3 separate regions of the Homo sapiens genome follow, and all the other regions are linked to region 1. The links are contacts of gene promoters, found by promoter capture Hi-C in blood cells and fetal thymus (Javierre and others, 2016). All regions are on one chromosome and are shown on one strand. Each heading gives the region's core, a stretch centred on a gene start or on the middle of the fragment in contact. The rest is flanking DNA. Distances are from core to core; before and after follow the strand shown. Region 1 holds the start of C1orf105 (chromosome 1 open reading frame 105). Region 2 overlaps METTL13 (methyltransferase 13, eEF1A N-terminus and K55). Region 3 overlaps DNM3 (dynamin 3).

What was found. The method cuts DNA at HindIII sites, captures the fragments that hold promoters and counts their contacts. A CHiCAGO score of 5 or more calls a contact.
Region 2: a contact is called between a fragment that was not itself captured here and the fragment with the promoter of C1orf105 in region 1, in 2 of 17 cell types (naive CD4 T cells and activated CD4 T cells). The highest score is 7.0, in naive CD4 T cells.
Region 3: a contact is called between a fragment that was not itself captured here and the fragment with the promoter of C1orf105 in region 1, in 1 of 17 cell types (M1 macrophages). The highest score is 6.1, in M1 macrophages.

What each region holds. Positions count from the first base shown.
Region 1 is chr1:172,418,786-172,423,024 of GRCh38, forward strand. It overlaps C1orf105 (chromosome 1 open reading frame 105), which reads left to right and starts at 1,900. Exons shown (of 7, transcript NM_139240.4): 1 at 1,900-2,121. The coding sequence starts at 2,101. LOC102724528 (a long non-coding RNA gene) reads right to left here. Exons shown (of 3, transcript XR_001738294.3): 1 at 3,712-4,239. The HindIII fragment of the contact is 10,347 bases long and covers 1-4,239 here.
Region 2 is chr1:171,783,024-171,787,262 of GRCh38, forward strand. METTL13 (methyltransferase 13, eEF1A N-terminus and K55) reads left to right here. Exons shown (of 8, transcript NM_015935.5): 2 at 717-1,476; 3 at 2,856-3,055. Among named protein-coding and RNA genes, the nearest start is that of METTL13, 3.5 kb to the left of the region's middle. The HindIII fragment of the contact is 3,155 bases long and covers 1-3,062 here.
Region 3 is chr1:171,871,838-171,876,076 of GRCh38, forward strand. All of the region lies in intron 1 of DNM3 (dynamin 3), which reads left to right. Among named protein-coding and RNA genes, the nearest start is that of DNM3-IT1, 9.8 kb to the left of the region's middle. RefSeq lists an enhancer at 1-477. The HindIII fragment of the contact is 4,009 bases long and covers 463-4,239 here.

The DNA.
Region 1 (4,239 bases), core at 650-3,149:
ATTGTTTTTCTAAACACTCTTAAGGGAGATAAAATGTAAGATCATAGAAGAAACTGTAGAGCAAAAACACATAAACCTCATAAATTCTATATGGCAAATGTAAGGGCGAAAAACCACATCATTCAGAATAAAAGTACAAGGCAAGGAAATGTTGCCACCTTGAGAAGAAAGACTCTTCATGATGTCAGTAAAGCACTAGAAAAATGGAGTCCATATAAGTTTGAAGGAATAGAGAACTTTTTATTCCTCTATCCTCAAATGGTAATTCTAACACTAAAATTTTAATCTATAATTTTTTAACAAGCATCCCAAAGATGTATCCAAATAAAATGTTTATTATTTAGGTAATATAGTACATTCCACCAAATATGTGATCTGAAGCCTTCCCAAAGGTTTAAGATTTAATTCAGAATTTTATTTTTTGAAAATTTATGTGGCCTAAAATAGAACTTGAAAGTAGTCCTTCTCAAATGAGATCACTTCTGAATGTGCTCCCCTTCAGCATATTAAGATGACAGAAAACTACATGACAAGAGAGTCAAAAAAATCATTCATCAGTTCTATTTACTTCACATCTGACCTAGGCAAGCCCTGGCAAAGGAGGTATTTGGAAGATGTGGGCAGGAACCCCCAGTTGTAAAAGGGAGAGTCCTCATTAGTAATGCTGTTTCTTCGGACCACAAATTTTTTTAAGGACTGAGTTCTCCACTCAAAAATGAAAAATCAGTTTCTTGGTTTAAAATGTTCATATGGCATGTTACATTATTTTAATTGTATCCCCGGTCCAGTGACTACCATTTAAAATCAGTGATAACTAAGAAAGTTCAAAGGCTCCAAACCAAGGCATCAACTGAAGCTCATGTATAGCAGGAAGGAGGTGACTTGATGTAAAATAGCACATAGCATGCAGTCTTTTGTCCTTTCCTTCCCCTCCAGTCCAGGCATTTGATTTTTAAATCAATATTCTTAGTGGATAGCATTCTTCATCCCAATAGACAAAAATGTACCTAGATGATTTCATACCACCTCCCCAAATGAAAACCGAAGTTGTCAAAGAGAAGGTTTTCTTCAATTCATTTTTTAAAAGTGTTTGGTACTTTTCCACTTTGTCTTAAACATGGACTTATTTTTATATGCAGTGTTACACAGTTTAGATGTATAAAACTTAAATTGACCTGATGAATGATGAGAAGGAAAAACTCCAGTCATAACAGAATGAAATGACAACCTTACTCAGTTTTCCTTAACAAAGAAGTGTGTTCCCTTCCTTACATTCTATAGGCAAGAAAAAAGAGGGCAGGGGAAAGGGATGGGGGGCAGCCTGGAGTAAAATTAAATTATGCTAAGATTTGTTAATATGTATTTAGTAAATAGTATTTCTATGTTTCATAATATACCTTTCCCCAACTCTTCTTACCTCCACCTCCACCCTGCTATGTTTAATAGACTTGAAAAATTACTCCCTTTTTCAGAGTTGATCATAACTCAGGATAGTCAGGAAGAGCCAAACTATTATGCCTTTAGTAAACATAATATTCCTTATATATTTTCATTCCTTTATTTATGCATCAAACATTTCTTGAATTCATGATAATGTCCTGGACCCTGGGAATACCAGAGAAGTAACAGAATAAAAGTAGCTTACAAAATAGCTAAATAAGCAATTACAATGTAGTGCTACAATAAGAGAAAAGTTTGGTTGTCTTTCCAGGGAGAACTGTTCTGACTTCAGTACTGAAGCAGCTATCTGAGTTTTAGTATACTGTTATCAACTTTACCCAACACATGCTAATGTTCCAGAACATTGTGATTTTGACTTCTAACAAAGAAAGGAATACTAGAACTCATTTCAGCCAATCAGAAACTGAGCTTTTCATTCTGAATGGAATTATATGATTCAAGATGTAAATCACACAGATGTTGGTAGAGAAAAAGGCATACTGGTATTGAAACTGTAAACTGGCCTGTTTACTTCGTCTCCTAACAAAAAACACTTTGGATTCAGGTTCTCCACAGCAGTCTTCCACTGGCCACAGTGAGGGGAGCTAGGTTTCCCCAGTCTCCAGCTAGAAAAACTCAGAACATCTAAAGATCTGAAAGATGGAAAAAAGAGAACTAAAGGTAGGAAAAAAATAAATGAAACTTCCAATTCTTTCCTTATGGGGTTACCCTGGTAAATGTTTGTATGCCTTGGAGGCCACATAAACATTGAGGGGTGTTTCAACAGACATCCTAGAAGTTGAAAGCCAAAAGAAGGTAAGGAAATAACAGCTGATGTTCAGTTACAGGTGAAGATAATTTTAATGGGTTTGGGGCATGATAAATTTCAATGCTCTTTATCGTATAGTTTGGAAAAAATGTTGTACTTGCCAACATCTTTTATAACTCAGCATTTAAGTATGATTTTTTTAAATCCTCAGAAAATTGATACCAGATTCTTTAGTGCAGTTCCCTGAGATTCTGAAGTAAACCTTCTCAACTGTGAATGCACTTTAAAACAATGAATCTCAGTCACAGGAAGTTAAGATTGCTGAGAAAGAAAAAAAAACTTGTATAGACTTTTATAATTACTAGGGTCTAAATCTGAATAAATCACATTGAGCTTATGACACTGTATGTTTCCTATTTAAAGGGATATACTAGCTGTCTCTATTACCATAGTACAGGTGCTCCTTGACTTATGATAGGGTTACATCTCAATAAACCACCACAAGTTGAAAATATTGTAAGTCAAAAATGCATGCAATACCCTGATGAACCCATGATAAAGTAAAAAAATCCTAAGTTGGGGAGGACGCAGAGCAAGATGGCCAAACAGAAGCCTTCACTGATTGTTCTCCATGCACGAACATCAAATTTAACAACTATCTACACAAAAAAGCACCTTCATAAGAACCAAAAATCAGTGATCACAAAGTGATCACAGTACCTGGTTTTAACTTCGTATTGTTGAAAGAAGCACTGAGGAAGATAAGAAAGACAATCTTGAATTGCTGACACCACCCCTCCCCCATCCCCTGGCAGCAGCCACATAGTGTGGAGAGAGAATCTGTGCACTTGGAGGGAGGGCACAGCGATTGTGGGACTCTAGAATTCAGTGCTGCCAATACGGGGCAGAACTTAGCTGTTGCCAATGGAGGGACCATTTAGACCACCCTTAGCCAGAGGAGAATTGCCCATCCCAGGTTTCAGAAACTGAGTTTTGACTACCTCCACCACCATGGGCTAAAGTGCTCTGAGGTCCTAAATAAACTTGAAAGCCTGTCTGGGCCACAACAACTGCAATACCCAGGCAAGTCCTAGTGCTGTGCTGGGCTCTGAGCCAGTGGACTGGGGAGCGCACGATCTAGTAAGACACCAGCCAGGATGGCTAAGTAAGTGCTTACAGCACCCCTCCCCCAACCCCAGGCAACACAGCTTATGGCTCCAAAAGGGACTCCTTCCTTTGCTTGAGGAGAGAAGAGGGAAGAGTGAAAAGGACTTTGTCTTGCAACTTGGATACCAGTTCAGCCAGAGTAGGATAGGGTACTGGGCAAAATCCTGAGGCACTCATTGCAGGCCCTAGCTCTTGGATGACATTTCTAGATATACCCTGGGCCAAAAGGGAACTGCCTTGAAGGGAAGGACCCAGTCTTGGCAGATTTCATCACATGCTGAATAAAGAGCCTTTGGACCCTGAAAAATCAGTAGCAGTAGCCAAGTACTACATACCGTGGGCCTCAGCTGAAACTCCGAAATGCACTGGCTTCAGATGTGACCCAGCACATTCACAGGTCTGGTGGCTACGAGGAGAGACCACTTCTGCTTGAGAAGAACAGAGGGAAGAATAAAGGGGACTCCGTCTTGAGCTTAGGTACCAGCTTAGCCACAGTGGGAAAGAGCACCAAGCCAGCTCTTTGGGTCCCTGATTCCAGTCCTTGGCTCTTGGATGGCATCTCTGGACCTATTCTAGGCCAGAGAGGAGCCCACTGCCCTGAAGGGTAAGTCACTTTCCTGGCAGCATCCAACACATGCTGGCAGAAGAGCCCTTGGGCCTTAAGTGAACATTGGCAGTATCCCAGCAGTACTCCTCATGGGCCTGTGGTGGTGTTGGACATGAGAAGAAACTCCTTTGCCTGGGGAAGAGCAGGAAAGGGTGGGAAGGACTTCAGTGGTTCGGGTGCCAGGTCAGCCACAGTAGAATACAAAACCAGGTAGATTTCTAAAGTTTCCAACTCCAGGCCCTGACTCCCAGACAGC
Region 2 (4,239 bases), core at 235-2,734, 640 kb before region 1:
CATTTTACAGATGAGGAAACTGAGGCCCCGAGAGCCACTTTTTTTTTTTTTTTTGCCCAAGATCATGTCCAGGTGGTCATGTGGGGATTTAAACTCAGGCCTGTCTGGCTCCAGAGCATATGCACATCTCTTTGTACCATGCTTTTCCAAAGATGGCAATATCAGAATTTCTAAGTTTGAATGGGAGATTGCTCCCTGGAGAGGGAGACAACAATCTGAATTTTAAGTTCGGCTTCAGAAGATAGCCAAATATCATGAGATGGAATCCGTGATGGAAGTAAGATTTGAATCCTCACAAAGTGTACTTTATTGTCTAAAGGAGCCAAAGGCATGAGTAGAGTGAGGAAATAGGGTTATTCCTGGCCTAGGATTTCAACTGTAACTCTATATTTGGATTCTCTGACTTCCTATTAATTCCTGAGTAATAAGTGCATGATTTAGAGAAAAGAACAGTTATGATTAATTTGTTTCTGCAACACAAAGCCCATTCTCATATAACCTGTATTGTAGCTGAATGTGGTTTTCACTAGCAAGTATATGTGGTGTTTCAAGATAGAGTCTAGCATCAACTCTACAATGTCGCTCTTTCTCTGGCAGTAGCGTCTCCACCTTCTGAAAATGTGACTCAGCCAAGGTGAGACTTGATTCCTTGAAGTACCTGAAGTACAGTCCTTTGCTTTGATTACCTCCCTCTTGTCTGTGAATTTTTTCTCCAGGTGCTGGTGATTGGGTGTGGCAACTCAGAACTGAGTGAGCAACTGTATGATGTGGGCTATCGGGATATAGTGAACATCGACATCAGTGAGGTTGTCATCAAGCAAATGAAGGAATGTAATGCCACCCGACGGCCCCAGATGAGCTTCTTGAAGATGGACATGACGCAGATGGAGTTTCCTGATGCCTCGTTCCAGGTGGTGTTGGACAAGGGCACCCTGGATGCTGTCCTGACAGATGAGGAAGAGAAGACCTTACAACAGGTGGACAGGATGCTGGCTGAGGTTGGCCGTGTCCTGCAGGTGGGCGGTCGCTATCTCTGCATCTCCCTGGCTCAGGCTCACATCCTGAAGAAAGCAGTGGGCCACTTCTCCCGGGAGGGGTGGATGGTGAGGGTGCACCAAGTGGCCAACAGCCAGGACCAGGTGTTGGAAGCAGAGCCTCAGTTCTCCTTGCCTGTCTTTGCCTTCATCATGACCAAGTTCAGGCCAGTCCCTGGCTCTGCCCTTCAGATCTTTGAGCTGTGTGCTCAGGAGCAGCGCAAGCCTGTGCGGCTGGAGAGTGCCGAGCGGCTGGCCGAGGCGGTGCAGGAGCGACAGCAGTATGCCTGGCTGTGCAGCCAGCTGCGCCGCAAGGCCAGGCTGGGGAGTGTGTCTCTGGACTTGTGCGATGGGGACACGGGGGAGCCACGCTACACCCTCCACGTGGTGGACAGCCCCACTGTGAAACCATCGCGGGACAATCATTTTGCGATTTTCATCAGTGAGTTGGGATTGCTCCCTCTCTTCCCTGGAGGGGCTGGCTTACAGGGGCTGGGGCTTGGGCTGGGGCTGGGGCTGAGGCTGGGCTGGGGCTTTGGTGGGATTCTGGACTGTTTTTTGTCTTGCAGGGGTTTGTACTTCCAGAGGATTAGACTACCCAAGGCATGATGAAAGGAGAGTAATAGCTCTCTAGCAACCTACTTGGAGTTGAGACCTATTCCTTTTCATCTGCCATTGCAAAGGCTTGATGAAGTGTGAGAATGGGGTTGGTAGGGAAGAGAGAGAATAGAGATAAATTTAGGAGGTCACATATGATATAGAGATGCTAGTTACTTTGTAGCATGGAGTAATGGAAGTAATGCTGGACTAGCAAGTCTAAGACATAGGTTCTAGTCCCAGCTGTAGCCTGTGAGCTGCAGGACCTGGGGAAGTTGCTGTGCTTCTCTGCAAAATTTGGAGAGGCAGCATAGGGTAGCAGCTAAAAAAGTGAGCTCTGGAACCAGACTGTTTGGGTTTCAGTTTTGGCTCAGTCATTTCCTGATGGTGTGACATTAGACAGGTTACTTTTCTTTCTCTGCCTTGATGGGATTGTAACTCTGGTGTAGTTGTGAGAAGTATAAAAGCTCTTAGAAATGGTACCTGGCCTTGGAAGTGCTGTGTAAATGTTAGCCATTATTACTGAAAGCAGTAAGTTATATCAGATTTATCTTAATAAGGATAAAAAAGATAGTAGGAGGAAGTGCTTTCAAAAGTGGAACATTGTAGACAAATGCAAAGTGTTTATGGTCTTGGTGTTACGGTAATTTGTTTCCTGGTGACTGAGCTAGTTTTTCAAGTATTCTATAATTCTGTCTGTCCATGTGTGGAAATAAATAGTGCAGTGAATACAAGCGTGGGTAGAGTCTGGGGCTAGACTGCCTGGGTTTGAGTCCCAGCTTCACCATTTACTTATTGTGCGAAGTTGGGCAAATAGTGTAACTTCTGTTTCTCAGTTTCCTCATATGTAAAAATGGGAATAATACTACTACCTGCATCTTGGACTGTTGGAGGATTCCATTAATATATATTTGTCAACAGCTTGGAGTCATGCCTGGCATGGCTTATTTGTGTTGGCATTACTGCTGTTTTTCTTGTGGTAGGTGTCTGCCTCCTTCCCCTACGGACATGCCCACACTTCTTCTCCACCCTTGGTCCTGCCTTATGTCTGATGGGCTGCTTTGCCCTAGATGTTGTGAACTAGAGAATTGTTAGCTCCTCAGTGGGTCACAGTTGGGGAAGATGCTGGTCTTGGACAGGGACTGGCTCCCTGCCGTTTGGGCCATATTGGTTGTGGGCTTGATCACTTTCCAGGACTCCCTGTAACCAAGTTCTTTTTTCTAGTCCCTCAGGGCCGGGAGACCGAGTGGCTCTTTGGCATGGATGAGGGCCGGAAACAGCTGGCGGCCAGTGCTGGCTTCAGGAGGTTGATTACAGTGGCCCTTCACCGAGGTCAGCAGTATGAAAGCATGGACCACATCCAAGCTGAGCTGTCGGCTAGAGTCATGGAGCTGGCCCCAGCTGGGATGCCCACCCAGCAGCAGGTAACAAAGCTTTCGTACGGCTTTCATGGGTCTCTGAAGTCATGTTAGCAGCCAGGGAGGCAGAGGGAGCCTTGGCAGGAGCTAGGACTAGAGTCTGTGACTCTTCATCTAATCCTGGAGGGGTATCAGCAGCTAAGGGTTAAATGGCAGGGAAACTGTCCTTTGCCCCAGGCAATGAGAGGAAAGTGAGCACAGTAGCGTCTGTGTCTGGGGGAGCCTCTCAGAGTCCATAGACATGGCAGGATGGAAATGCTCTACTCATTGCGGGCTTCAGTTCTTCCTAATTTGAGTTGCTCTGACTGTGGATTTCTCCTTCCACACTGGACTTTCTTGGTCATTTTGCTTCTTAGAACTATCATTATCTGAGGGTATAAATGGAAGAGGGCCAAAACAGCTCAGCACAGTTATCCAGGTATTCACATTGCTGGTCAGGTGTTTTACTGGGAAGGAAACCGAAGGTTTTTGCCTAAGTGGTGATATGGTATTATCAGTTAACACCAACTGTCTTGTGCTATCCTGGTCACCATGGGTAACGAACAAGTGATTTTACTAAAAGAACTTCATGATGAGGAGTTGATCCTTTTTTTTCTTTTTTGAGATAGGGTCTTGCTCTGTTGCCCAGGCTGGACTGGAGTTCAGTGGTGTGATCACGGCTCACTGCAGCCTCAGCCTCAACCTCCTGGGTTCAAACCATCCTCCCACCTCAGCCTTTGGTAGTAGCTGGGACTATAGGTGCAAGCCACCATACCTGGCTAGTTTTTTTTTTACATTTTTTGTAGAGACAGGGTCTCCCTATGTTGCCCAAGCTTTGATCCTTCTTGATAGGTGGGAAAGCAAAGGTATCTAGAGGCTTGGTGCAAATAGTAACAGATCTGAAAAAAAAGAACCCAGGCTCCTGGGTTCCTGGCCTGTGGTTTTGCCCACTAGGCTGACTCGTGTTTACAGATGAATGTAAGTTTGATTCTTCCTGGCCAACTTTGGGGTTGATGACCCCTATTTCAAGGAAGCCCAGATCCTCTGAGGAGCTTCATTTGTGGCCTCTCACCAGTGCCTGAGTCTGCAGGGTCAGGAGATATTGGTGATTATTAACTAGTCTTATAGGTCTTTAAAAAAAGAAATAAAGATAGGGGGAAGGAGTGGGAAAGTTTAGGGGGAAAGTATATTTTTCTCCTAAGGTTCAGAAA
Region 3 (4,239 bases), core at 1,217-3,716, 550 kb before region 1:
TCTGTTAAAATTTTAGTTGTTGTCTTGTTTTTTTTTTTTTGCTAAATAGAATATTCAAAGTGTATTTTCTCTAGAAAGATAGATTCAGTGGGTTAAGAGGTAGTAATTTTTTTTTTTTTCAATTTAGCCAACAATTGCTAAGCCTCTACCGACTGCCAGCCTCCATGCAGACGAGCTATGGCCATTGAGCTCACAGAGCTAGCTGATAACCCATCAGGAAAGGAATGTGATAAGGTGTGTAGGGAGAATTTGAGAGATGACAAAGCATTGTAGAGGGTTGAGGGAAGATCAGGGAAAATGACAGAGATCATCACATTTGAGTTAGTGCTTAAAGAATAATTTTAACAGGATTTAAGAGTGTACTTCTTTATAACAGAAAGTTGAATTTGAAATGACTCTCAAATCCTATTCATTATATAGGCTTTGCAGTGAATTACCAAATGGTATATTTTGAGATGAAAAAGCTTCTTTGTTATCTCCCACCCCAAAATAGTTTTTCCTTTTTTTTTCCTTTTTGCAGTTCTCCATCATTTGTTTTTTCATATTTAGATCTGGTCTTCCTAAAGAGTTTATGAGGATAGAAACTGTGCCATATACTTTACTGGATCTCCTGTAGTGCTAGGCATATTGGACCTTAGATATTTTCAAAATAATGTACGTAGGAATGAATAAGCTATTCTTAGGCGCAAATTGTTTGTTTATTCTTTTTGTATTAGCATTTCCTAGGAAAGTGAAGTCAGGATGTTAGTAATGAGGACACCAAGAGGATGTCCCCGCTAGTCTCTCGGCATGCTGGCCAGACCCTGGTTGTGCTCTGTCTGAGTCCACAGAATCACATTGCTTTTCTCCTAGTCCCTATCTGTAGGTAAGAGAAAATGTGGAAAGTCGATGTTTGCTCTGGAAGTTATAGAAATTTCCACTCAGAAGGTCCTTCTTTCTGAAGAAATGTTTGTTTTTTTTTAATTCAGGTCCAATTTGGACAAGATACTCTTGCTTTTTCGAGTCAGTTGAAGAGCAAGATAACAGGTGAAAAGTATTTCAAGAGTTTAGATCAAACTTGATAATATTTGTAAAAACATGAACTGTAAAGTATTACAGAAATTGTTATTCTTTTGTTGTTATTAAGATTGAAGGAGGAGCAGAATCATCCCATAATTACTCCTGGGGGTCTGAGTCTTGTGTTTGATTAGCTTTAACTCACATTTTGTTATTGTAGTTATCAGATGGATTTGGATATTTGTAAGATATAAAGGTGTCTATTCTTTAAGAAGTCAAGTTGAATCATATAAGATAAAGAGATCTTGAAGGGAGCTTCACTAGCTGTGAAGTTGTCCAATCTCTATAAGTGACACATTTCTCATCAGAAAAATGATCTGTATTTCCCAGGGTGTTGAAGAGTTCCTTTAGTGGGTTTGAAGGGTACAGCATGGTGCCTGACCTGTAGTAGGTGGTCCATAAATGTTAGCTATAAAATATTACTATTATTTAAAAGGTTATTTAAAACCCTGAATTCAGCAGACATTTATTGAACACCTACTGTGTGTCAGGCACTGTTTTAAGAGCTAGAAAAAAGCCATAAAGCAAACAAAGATTCCTGTGCTTGAGGAACTCAGGTTTTAACTGGGGAGATGGATAAGCAATACCCAAAGTAAATAAGTAAATTATGTGGCAGATTACAAGATTATTAGGGCCATGGACCAAAGGAAAGGCAAAGCAGGGTAAGGGGGATCAGGCATGTCCAAGAAGAAGAGGTGAGATTTAAGCAAGGACTTGAGGGAGGTGACAGCATTAATTGTGTCTCATCTCCTCAGTCAAGAGTTGATGTTTCAAATGGCAAGATAAATGACTGTAAAAATGCCTGATGTTCTTAACTATTAGACTTAAACCATACGAAAAACTGTACGCTTTTTCTTTTCTCGTTCTCCACGAAGTAAGAAAATACTGTCCCTTTCTTTTTCCCCTCAATGACAATAAAATAAGTATCCCTGATGATATTATCAAATCCTTTTTAGAAGCTGTTTCCTTTACTTCCTAATGGATTTAGCTCTAATCCAAACCAGAAGCACATTTTGAGTCTTTTCTGATATGACATTATTACAGTGAGTGGTTTCTATTTTTCTTCTAAGTGTTGCTTGAACACAGGAAAGGAATGTGAGAAGACCTCTTGCCACAGCTGAAGTATATATTAGAGTACATTATTTAGTAAACGGTAGACAGTTCTTTCCTTGAAACTCATTTGAACATTTATTGTAATGTGAACTAAGTTTTTTCAATTCCTAATTAGAGATGGTAGTTTTTCTGTATTTTAAAATTGGATATCACATCCATGTACATATATACAAACACACATAAATTTCTCAGATATTAAAATGGGATGTCACTAATATGCATATATGTATATGCATCTATATATACATATGTGGATATGTGTAGATATACACATATGCATAGTTTAGTTGATTAGGTTAATTATCTCTTAATTAATTTCTTAATTATTTCAAAGAATTGGGGAAACCAGCAGTTTTTATAGTTAAATATTCCTTGAAATGAAATTAATTGTGGCATTGGTACAAGTCAAAATAATTCAGTGTTTTGGTAGTGGTAGTATCTGTGATAGTCTTAGGCTTAGATATTGCAGTGACAAAGTATCCAGTGGTAGAGTTGATGAAATTGTATTTTTATAGACGTATTTGAGGCTATTATGCTTTTATCATCAAAATATAATATTCATATAGTTCATTACATGGCAAATGCACATGTATGATTAGTGAGCCTGGATTAGTAGCCTTGCTACTCTTGTACTTATTCAGCCACCTTAAAACATAATGTCAACTTTTATTTTAGATCAGGGGGCATATATGCACGTTTGTTACATGGGTAGATTGCATGATGCTGAGGTTTGGAGTATGAATTATCCTGTCACCCCGGTAGTGAACATAGTACCCATAGTATCCAGTAGGTAGTTTTTCAGCCCTTCTCCCTTCCTTTACTTCCCCATCTAGTAGCCCCCAGTGGCTATTGTCATCTTTATGTTCATGAGTACCCAATGTTTAGCTCCCACTTATAAGTGGGAACGTGCAGTATTTGGTTTGCTGTTCCTGTGTTAATTCACTTAGGATAATGGCCTCCAGCTCTGTCCATGTTGCTGCAAAGGACACGATTTTGTTCTTTTTATGGCTGCATAGTATTCCATGGTGTGTAGCTATCATGTTTTCTTTATCCAATTTACTGTTGATGGGCACCCAGGTTGATTCCATGTCTTTGTTACTGTGAACAGTGCTGCGATGAACATATGAGTGCATGTGTCTTTTTGGTAGAGCAATTTATTTTCCTTTGGGTATATGCCCAGTAATGGGATTGCTGGGCCGAATGGTAGTTCTGTTTTAAGTTCTTTGAGAAATATCCAAACTGCTTTCCACAGTGGCTGAACTAATTTACATTCCCACCAACAGTGTATAAGCCTTCCCTTTCCTCTGCAGGCTTGCCAGCATCTTATTCAGCCACTTCTAGAGTTCATTATTACTTTGTCTGAATTGTTTGTACCAAAGTTACTTAAAAAGCCAGTATTATTTCATTGAACTCATTGTGCTGTTGTACCTTTTTTTCTTTGTCTTTTTAAGATGAGTTGGAATATAGTATGTAAAAATGACACATAAGTTAGATTTGGCATCTGAAGGAGTAAACCAAATATTTACTGGCAATAGAGTGTGCCATAGCATTTGAGAGCATTGGAATGAGCCTGAATACCTGGGTTCAAATCTCACCTTGCCACTTACTACCTGGACAACCTTGGGGAAGTTAATTAGCCTTCTAGGCTTTACTTTCCTCATCTGCGAAATTATAAAAATAGTAGTACCTACCTTACTGCATTGTTTTAAGAATTAAGTGAGTTGCTATTTGTAAAGCACTTAGTACAGTGTTTATTAAATAGATATAAATAAATACCCCAGCAAGTCTAAAAAAAGAGTTGTCTCTCTTTTTTTTTTTTTTTTGAGATGGAGTATCGTTCTGTCGCCAGGCTGGAGTGCAGTGGTGCGATCTGGGCTCACTGCAGCCTCCGCCTCCTGGGTTCAAGTGATTCTTGTGCCTCAGCCTCCCAAGTAACTGGGACTACAGGCGCGTGCCACCATGCCCAGCTAATTTTTGTATTTTTAGTAGAGACGGAGTTTTACCATGTTGTCCAGGATGGTCTCGATCTCTTGACCTTGTGATCCGCCCCCCTCGGCCTCGCAAAGTCCT